Linked DNA regions of Homo sapiens: region 1 is linked to region 2. The links are contacts of gene promoters, found by promoter capture Hi-C in blood cells and fetal thymus (Javierre and others, 2016). All regions are on one chromosome and are shown on one strand. Each heading gives the region's core, a stretch centred on a gene start or on the middle of the fragment in contact. The rest is flanking DNA. Distances are from core to core; before and after follow the strand shown. Region 1 has its middle 27 kb from the start of DNAJC1. Region 2 holds the start of ARMC3 (armadillo repeat containing 3).

Region 1 (4,222 bases), core at 1,269-3,768, 900 kb after region 2:
TATACAGTTAAAAGGTTTAATGGACTCACAGTTCCACATGGCTGGGGAGGCCTCACAATCATGGCAGAAGGCAAGGAGGAGCAAGTCATGTCTTACATGGATGGCAGCAGACAAAGAGAGCTTGTGCAGGGGAACTCCTCTTTATAAAACCGTCAGATCTCATGAGATTTATTCACTGTCACGAGAACAGCATGGGAAAGACTTGCCCCCATGATTTAATTACCTCCCACTGGGTCCCTCCCACAACATGAGGGAATTCAAGACGAGACTTGGGTGGGGACATAGCCAAACCATATCAGTGAGCCAACTAAACCTCTTTTCTTTATAAATTACCCAGTCTCAGGTGTTTTTGTGTTTTTTTGTTGGTTTGTTTGTCTGTTTGTTTGTTTTTGAGACGGAGTCTCACTTCATTGCCCAGGCTGGAGTGCAGTGGCAGAACCTCGGCTCACTGCAACCTCCGCCTCCCGGGTTCAAGCAATTCTCCTGTCTCAGCCTCCCCAGTAGCTGGGAACTACAGGCACATGCCACCATGCCTGGCTAATTTTTTTGTATTTTTAGTAGAGGTGGGGTTTCACCATATTGGTCAGGCTGGTCTCGAGCTCCTGACCTCAAATGATCCACCCACCTCAGCCTCCCAAAGTGCTAGGATTACAGACATGAGCCACCACACCCTGCCTTCAGGTATTTTTTTAAATAGCAATGCGGAAACAGACTAAAATGGAAAATTGGTACCAAGGAATGGGGCATTGCTATAAAGATATCTGAAAATGTGGAAGTGACTTTGGAACTTGGTAACAAGCAGACATTGGAATCTAAATCTCCTACCTCCAGAATCTTGAGTAATAAATAAGTAAATTAATTTCTCTCTAATCTGTTTCTTATACACAGCAAAACATATAATCTAATGAATATAAGAATAATACTCAAGAAGCTCACGAACTTGAGAAAATTTTAGAGCAGCAAAAAGTCATTTATTAATTCACTCAACAAATTTGAAACTACTCAGTGTCAGGCACTGTTTTAGACATTGAGGATGCAGCTGTAAACAAGATACATAAAGTCTGCTTTCATGAGCTTACCTTCTAGAAGGGGGAGGCATCCAATCCACAAATAAATATGAAATATAGTGGGAGGTGGTAATATGACCACCAAGTAGGATGAGATCATTTAAGGAGAGTCAGGAAATGCTTTTCTAATAATATTATATTTGGGCAGTGACGTGAGGGAACTAGTAAAATTGAAACTACTTTGTTATCTGGGAGAAGAACATTCCAGACAGACATACCAACAAATATTAAGTGGGAAGTGGGAGCAGGATTGACAGTTTTGAAGGACAACGATGCCACTCTGGCTGGGGCTGAGGGAGCAAGGGGAAGAGTGTAGGAGACCAGAGGGCTTAGATGGTAAGGACCTGGGATTTTCCTCTGCATGAATGATTAGAGGGTTTGGGGAAGAGGAATGAAGCAATCTGAGTTATATTTTAGAAGCATTTCTGCAGAGATTAGGTGAGAGGAGGCAAGGGTGGAACCAGAAAGACCAGATGAGAGTTGATGGTGGCATGGATTAGGGTGATGGTTGTGGAGAAATGGTCAGATTCTGGGAAAATTTTGAAGTTAGAGAAGACATGATTTGCTGCTGAATTGAATGGGGGGAAAAGAGAATAGGACTCAGGAATGACTCTAAGATTTGGCCTGATCCATACTGTCTTGATAAATATCCCTCTATGAATTCCAGGGTGCGGATACAGATCTGAGAAAAGGAAAGGCTTTGTACTTCTCATGACACTTGCTGTAGGTTTAACTGCATTCACTATGACCATGTATGTGCTAAACATACATGTATTATTTCATTTAATTTTTACAGCATTCCTATTAGTGGCTGTTATCATCCTCACTTTTATAGATGAGGACGCTGAGGTTTAAACAGGTTGTGTAACTTGCCCAAGGTCATACACCTAGTGAGTGGAAAAGCCAGTATTCAAACTCATATCTGCCTGATACCAAGTCACAGCTTCCAAACCACTCTTCTGTACAGCCTATGATGTTTTTACTCTTCCATCAGTTAGAGCAGGAGCAGACAGACGAAGCCCCACAGGCCAAATCTGGCTCCATCCCTGTTTCTATAGAGCCTGTGAACTAAGAAAAAAAAATTTTTGGAAAAAAAATCAAAACAACATTTTTATAACAGTGGAAATTGATATAAAATTCAAACTTCAGTGTTCACAAATAAAGCTTCGTTGGAACACAGTCATACCTCTTCATTTACTTATTATCTATGGCTGTGTTTGGGCTACCATGGCAGAGTAGATTAGTTTCAACAGAGACTACGTGGTCCACAAAATCTAAAATAGTTAATATCTAGCCCTTTACAGAAAACGTTTGCCAACCCTGGTTTAGAGAATGAACTCTGTTCTAACGTTCATGAAATACCACGTTTGTGAAACATTTCTACGGTAGTTAATATCTCTAAAGTCAGAGAAGGTAATGCTCTGTGAGAGAGAGTTTATTTAGCCAGTTAAGGATTAATTACTCTTGCAGTTTTGTTCTACTGTGAAAGTGCAATACACAATGGGCAGGAACCCAGTGTCAGAGTAACGGCAAATAACCTTTTACCTCTCTCTCTCTCTCTCAAATAGAGACCATTCATATAAGCTATCTATCTCAGAAAATTGTGAGTTCTTGATATTTTGAAATTATTAAAGGATTTGCCTTTAGGAGCTCTTTTTGAAAATGTTCAATTCTCAAATTTCTAGCTTTGAAACTATATCATGCACTGATCTACAAAGGCTAATTGCAATCAAGCTTACTTCTACTGAATGCTGATCGATGGTGAGTAACCACGATAACACTGATCAAGGGACAGCGTTCTATAGTTGAATGAGTCACTCCATTTCTACCAGAAAATAATTACATAAGGTCTAGAAACGTGTCTCTCCCAGTAGAAAGCTTTGTAATGATCTAGTGCGGAGGGAAGTAAAAGTACAAAACAAGATAAGAGCCACATATGAGGGTGTTTAATCTCTGTGCCAAGTACAGAAAGGAACTCTGCTCTATGGTTTTTATCTGTGAATCTAGAAGCAGCTGAGGCGGTGAACCTCAGTGTATGTGTAAATTTCTATCGTTGTTGGCTTTCTCTTCCAATAAAAGCCTTATCTGAATTGAGCTGAAACAGCTTATTTTCATCCATCCCATTTGGGTCCAGTTCCAGAAAGAGTTGAGAAATCTCATCCTTGGAGTAGACTTGAAAAGAGACCCACCTGGATTGTATTTATATGTGCATGGTAATCCCACCTAGACTCCTCTGAGAGCTGGCAGGTTCTCCCCTTCCTTCTGACCATGCCAAGTGACCTCTTACCACACTCAACTATGATAGCTCATATCTAACTTTTCTGTACTGTATTATTATGTATCTACTACATCTGCAACAGATACTTTCTCTGGGACCAAACTTTTGCTTTAAAATGATAGGACCAGTCTCAGAGAGTCACCTATTGTCTGACTCTATTTCCATTGCATTCTTTTTTTAAAAAACACCTTTATTGAGATATAGTTCACGTGCCATGTAATTCACCCATTTAAAGTGTACAATTCAATGGCTTTTAGTATATTCACAGAGGTGCAACCATCACCACAATCAATCTTAGGACATTTTTATTAAGCCCTCCCTTCTAGATCACTTAGCCATCACCAAAAATTCCCCCCATCCCACCCAGCCCATGGCAACTACTAATCTCCTTTCTGTCTCTACAGATTTGTCTATTCTGGACATTTCAAAAAGAAATGGAGTCATCCGTTGTGTGATCCTTTGTGCTTGGCTTCTTTCACGTGGCATATTTTCAAGGTTCATCCATGTTGTGCCATGTGTCAGTACTGTCTTTTAATTGCCAAATGATATTTCATTGAATGATATACTCCATGACACTCTTGAGATGACATTATAGACTTAGAGAACAGATGTTAGGAGTGGTGGTTTGGGGAAGAGTTGACATGACTGGCTATGAAGGAATAAAGAATAACATGAAGGATCGTTGTGATAGAACCATTATGTAACTTAACCGTGGTAAAATTGCATAGAACTAAACACACCTACTTATGCATACACACACACACACACACACACCACACATACACAAGTGAATGTATGCAAATCTGGTAACAACTGAATAAAGTCAATAGTTTGCAGCAGTATAAGTTTTCTGGTTAGGATATTGTACTCTAGTTAT
Region 2 (4,528 bases), core at 1,259-3,758:
CTACTTTTAAGACTTTGGAGGGCCTGGGCAAGCTTATTCACACAATAGCCAATATATTAAAATGTTAAAATGTGCCTGCATCGCCCATTAAATGTCATTTGCATCATAAAAACTTTTGAAATTTGTATTTGAAATTACTCAGCAATCAGTACATACACCTGGAAATTCTTGTAAAATGAGAAAATTGTTTTCAAATGTAATAAAAATTTATATTAATAAAACATTTAATTAACACTAATTTTTCAGTTCTCTTTTCATATTTTAGAGCCAATATAAGCATTTTTTTCAAATCTCAAACATCTTCCTTAGGTGCTTGAAAAGTGAACAGGCCCTAGACCTTGTGCCTATAATATTTCAGGCAGAGAGGCAGAAACTATTCTGGGCAAATGAGAATCTATCCTACAATTAATCTCTAGGAAAAAAAAAAGAGAGAGTTTATAGCACTCTATAACCAATTCCAAGACAGAGCAGCCTTTGATTTATAAAATAATTGCTTATGAATAATATTCAGGAAGCAATTTAATTACACCTGCATAAAGTTGTTTTAAATCATCTGATTTTCACTTAGGAACTAATTTTTCCTACTTCAGGATAGTGTTTTTGAGCAATTGCATAGTGCAGAGGTTAGAAGAGCTTACACAGACAGTATTGCAATGATAGAGTGTCTCCTAAGCTAAAGAATGAAGTTAAAAGCCTATGTGTTTTATCATGGCCCGGCGTGGTGGCTCACTCCTGTAATCCCAGCACTTTGGGAGGCTGAGGCGGGTGGATCACCTGAGGTCAGGAGCTCAAGACCAGCCTGGACAACATGGCAAAACTCTGTCTCTACTAAAAATACAAAAATTAGCCTGGAGTGGCGGTGGCATGTGCCTGCATTCCCAGCTACTGGGGAGGCTGAGGCAGGAGAATTGCTTGAGGCCGGGAGGCGGAGGTTGCAATAAGCTGAGATCACCCCATTGCACTCCAGCCTGGGTGACAGAGCGAGACTCTGTCTCCTCCCCCAAAAAAAGCCTATGTGTTTTATCACCATATTGGGTATGATAGTTAATGGAGGAGAGACTGAACAGCTGACATAGGTCGGTGGCAATGAGCTATGGAGATGATCCTTACAAGGGTAATACATTTCACTGTGGAGAATTTGGAAAACAAGGGCACAACGAATAAAATAAAAATCACCCAAAGATAAGCTCAGAGAGATCAATACTATTTCTTTTCTTTTCCTTTCCTTTCCTTTCCTTTCCTTTCTTTTTCTTTTTCTTTCTCTTTCTCTCTCTCTTTCTCTCTCTCTCTCTCCCTCTCTCTCTCTCTTCTCTTTTTTTCTTTTTCTTTTTCTTTTTTGAGACAGAGTCTCACTCTGTTGCCCAGGCTGGAGAGTGGCCTGATCTTGGCTCATTGCAACCTCCACCTCCCAGGTTTAAGAGATTCTCCTGCCTCAGCCTCCTGAGTAGCTGGGATTACAGGTACCCGCCACCACGCTCGGCTAATTTTTGTATTTTCAGTAGAGACAGGTTTCCCCACATTGACCAGGTTGGTCTCGAACTCCTGACTTCAGGCGATCCACCCGCCTCAGCCTCCCAAAGTGCTGGGGTTGTAGGCGTGAGCCACCGTACCTGGCTTTGTGTGTTTTTCTAAAGTGATTTTAACATCCTGCCTCAACTTCTATCCCCTACTTTCACCTTCCCTTCCTGGGTTCATATTCCTACTAAATTCTTATATTAACAAATAAATTCATGAAGTCTCAGTTTCCCTTCATTGCTTTAATAATCTCCAGTGGATTAGCATAACATGCCATTACAAATATTTTAAAATCCCTTAGCTATCTAGCCAGTCTCTGATTGTTGAAATTTGTTTCTAATTTTCTGGAAATATGGACAGGGCTGAAAGAACGTCCTTGGACATAAAATTTTCATCCATTATCCCCAACTATTTCTTTAGGATAAATCTCTAGCAGTAAATTAACTGGGTGAAAACTTCAGGGCATTGGATATGCAAACAACTCTGCTCTAAAAATGCATCTTCTTGACTACTGGAGCCATTTTTTTTTTCACGAGTTGATTGGTCCTTTGTATTTGTTCTTCGTGAACGTTCAGCCTATGATTTTAAATATTTTCTAATGAGTTCTGCTTTGAGAAGATTTAAAGAGGAGGAGGGCTCAAGAAATCGAGGCCACTTCTGAGTTGCTCACAGTCAAGTAACGGAATCTGACTTGATCTCACCTCAGATCCCCTCTCGGGCCTCAGTTTTGTCACCTGTTGAATGGGAGGTGGCGGGATGCTTACGAAACCCACCCCAAGCCCCGTCTAACCCTGCGGGCGCGAGGCAGAAACTAACAACGCCCAGCAAGGTGTTGCCTCACTGACCCAAGCAGTCTGCGCCCACGTGGCACCTTCTCCTTTCCCAGGTTTTCCTCAGGCCTCTGCCTTGGGCCTCCCCACCCCACGGGGTTACCTTTACCTGCCGGGAGATCCCGCCGAGTAGCTAGCTGCTCCGCAAACCCAGCAGACGAACCCCCAGTCCCTTGTTGTGCCTCGTTGCTAGGCGACGCCACGCCGCGCCGCGCCTGCGCCCTGGGAACGCTCGGGGCTGCTAGGGCGCCCATTGTCCCGCCGAGGGCAGCGGCCAGTGCGGGAGGAGCCAAGTGCGTCCGCGATTACCTGAATCCAGTGCTTTAGGGGAGAATGGAAACTGGGGGTGGAAGCTGTAAATCAAGAGGCAGTTCAGCCTCAGTTTCTGGCCCAAGGACTGGCTGTGGGTTCAAATACGCAAATACTATTGCATTCTTCCAAATAGAGGCGTCAGCCGGAATCTCTATGCAGATGAAACCCACATCAGCCACCTCCTGCCCAGGCTCCGTTAAGCTGCAGACCTGCACTGCCACATCTCTTTGCACTAGGATGTCCAATCCGTTTCCACAGAACTTCTCATGGCCCTTCAAAGCCCCGTTCTCTTCCTCTTTCTTTCCTCTTCCTGCCATTCTTCCAATTGCCTAGACTCAGAAGGAGCTTCAATTTCCCTTCTTCCTCCCATGCCCCCCAACCACAGTCATCACTTCAGCCACTTCTTGGCGGCTTACATTTTGTTTCCTGCTTGTTCCCTTTCTCATATCCTTATTGTCACTTCAATCCAGCTCGTCATTTTTTGGCCTTCTGGCTGAGAAATTCAGTTGCTCTCTGCTTACAGTTCTTTCTACGTATCACAGGCAAATCGGCCATCCAGAAATCATCGTTCCAGTCTTGTCACTTCCCTACTCAAATGTCAGCGGCTTCCTAAGATAAATTTTCAACACATTGGCCTGGAATTTAAGACCGTCTGCTCCATCTCTACTCCATCTGTGCAACCACATTTTCAACCGATCTCCACCATCCAAGCTCCAGCCAAACTTACTGTTCCCGAAATTTTCCACACTTTTCTCTAGATTTTCTTGCTTATCTGTTCATCACTTCATTTTTCAACAAATATTTATAAAGTAGCTTCTATTTCCCAGGTCATGTGCAATACCTGAAATATTCTCTCATTTCCACTTAATTAAGCCCAGCTCAAATGCCATCTTCATAAAATATTTTTTGATTGCCTTTAGCAAAAAGTCTCTCCCTCTCCTCTTAGACTTTGCAAATTCCGTCTCCTACCGGCCCCTGTTGGTCTCCCAGTCCTAAGAATGATAGATGCTTCTTATAATTGCTACTTTTATATATCTTATGTTCTCTTCTCACCATTTAAATTGCCTGATAAACAGCTTTATAACAATTATTTGTATTCAGTTTTCCATGGTCAAATATCCGGTGTGACTTCTGTATAGAAAAGATCTTAAGTAATGGTCATGAAAGTAGGAAAAGGATTAAGACCAAGTAGCATCAAGGAAACTAAGGAGGGAGTTTCAAGAATATAAGCGTCATCAAGTGTTATATGATTGGACCTTGAATAATATACACCTGTATTTTCAGCCTCTCCCTGTCTTCCACGTTTTTTCCTGTTGGTATATAATTATGTTGAAGCCCCTCCCATGCCTCATCTAAAAAGCAAAAACAAATAAAATCCCTTTGATGTTGTTGTTCCTTCTAACTATTATCCTATTGTTTTCTTTCTCTTCTTGGTCATGACTTTTCAAAAAAAGTAGCCAGCATTAGATACTTACATATTTTTAACTTCCTATTCACTCTTCAGACTATAGTGACCTGTTTTCATCCCAGCACTAAAACTATCCATATCCATTGGATGCTTCTTAGCCCTCATCTTGCTTGACATTGCTGCTGTATATAATACTCAATGACACCTCATTCTTGAAACTCTTTTCTTGGTTTCCTTGGTACTACTTGCTCTTGATCTTCCTCCTACTTTCTTTTATGACCATCATTTAAGATCTTTTCTATACAACAGGGTCTATCTATGTTGCCCAGGCTTGTCTTGAATTCCTGGCCTCAAGGAATCCTCCTGACTCAGCCTCCTGAGTAGCTGGGATTTTATAGGGATATATGCCCTATTGTGGTTTTTTTACAGAATCTTAAATGTTGAAATTTCCCAGGGATCTGTC

The links. Contacts are between HindIII fragments. The CHiCAGO score rates a contact against its expected background, and 5 or more counts as called.
Region 1: a fragment that was not itself captured here is called in contact with the fragment with the promoter of ARMC3 in region 2 in 6 of 17 cell types (naive CD8 T cells, endothelial precursors, naive CD4 T cells and 3 more); the score reaches 5.9 in naive CD8 T cells.

What each region holds. Positions count from the first base shown.
Region 1 is chr10:22,028,367-22,032,588 of GRCh38, reverse strand. No RefSeq gene overlaps it. Among named protein-coding and RNA genes, the nearest start is that of DNAJC1, 27 kb to the right of the region's middle. The HindIII fragment of the contact is 570 bases long and covers 2,234-2,803 here.
Region 2 is chr10:22,926,033-22,930,560 of GRCh38, reverse strand. It overlaps ARMC3 (armadillo repeat containing 3), which reads right to left and starts at 2,508. Exons shown (of 19, transcript NM_173081.5): 1 at 2,455-2,508. The HindIII fragment of the contact is 5,434 bases long and covers 35-4,528 here.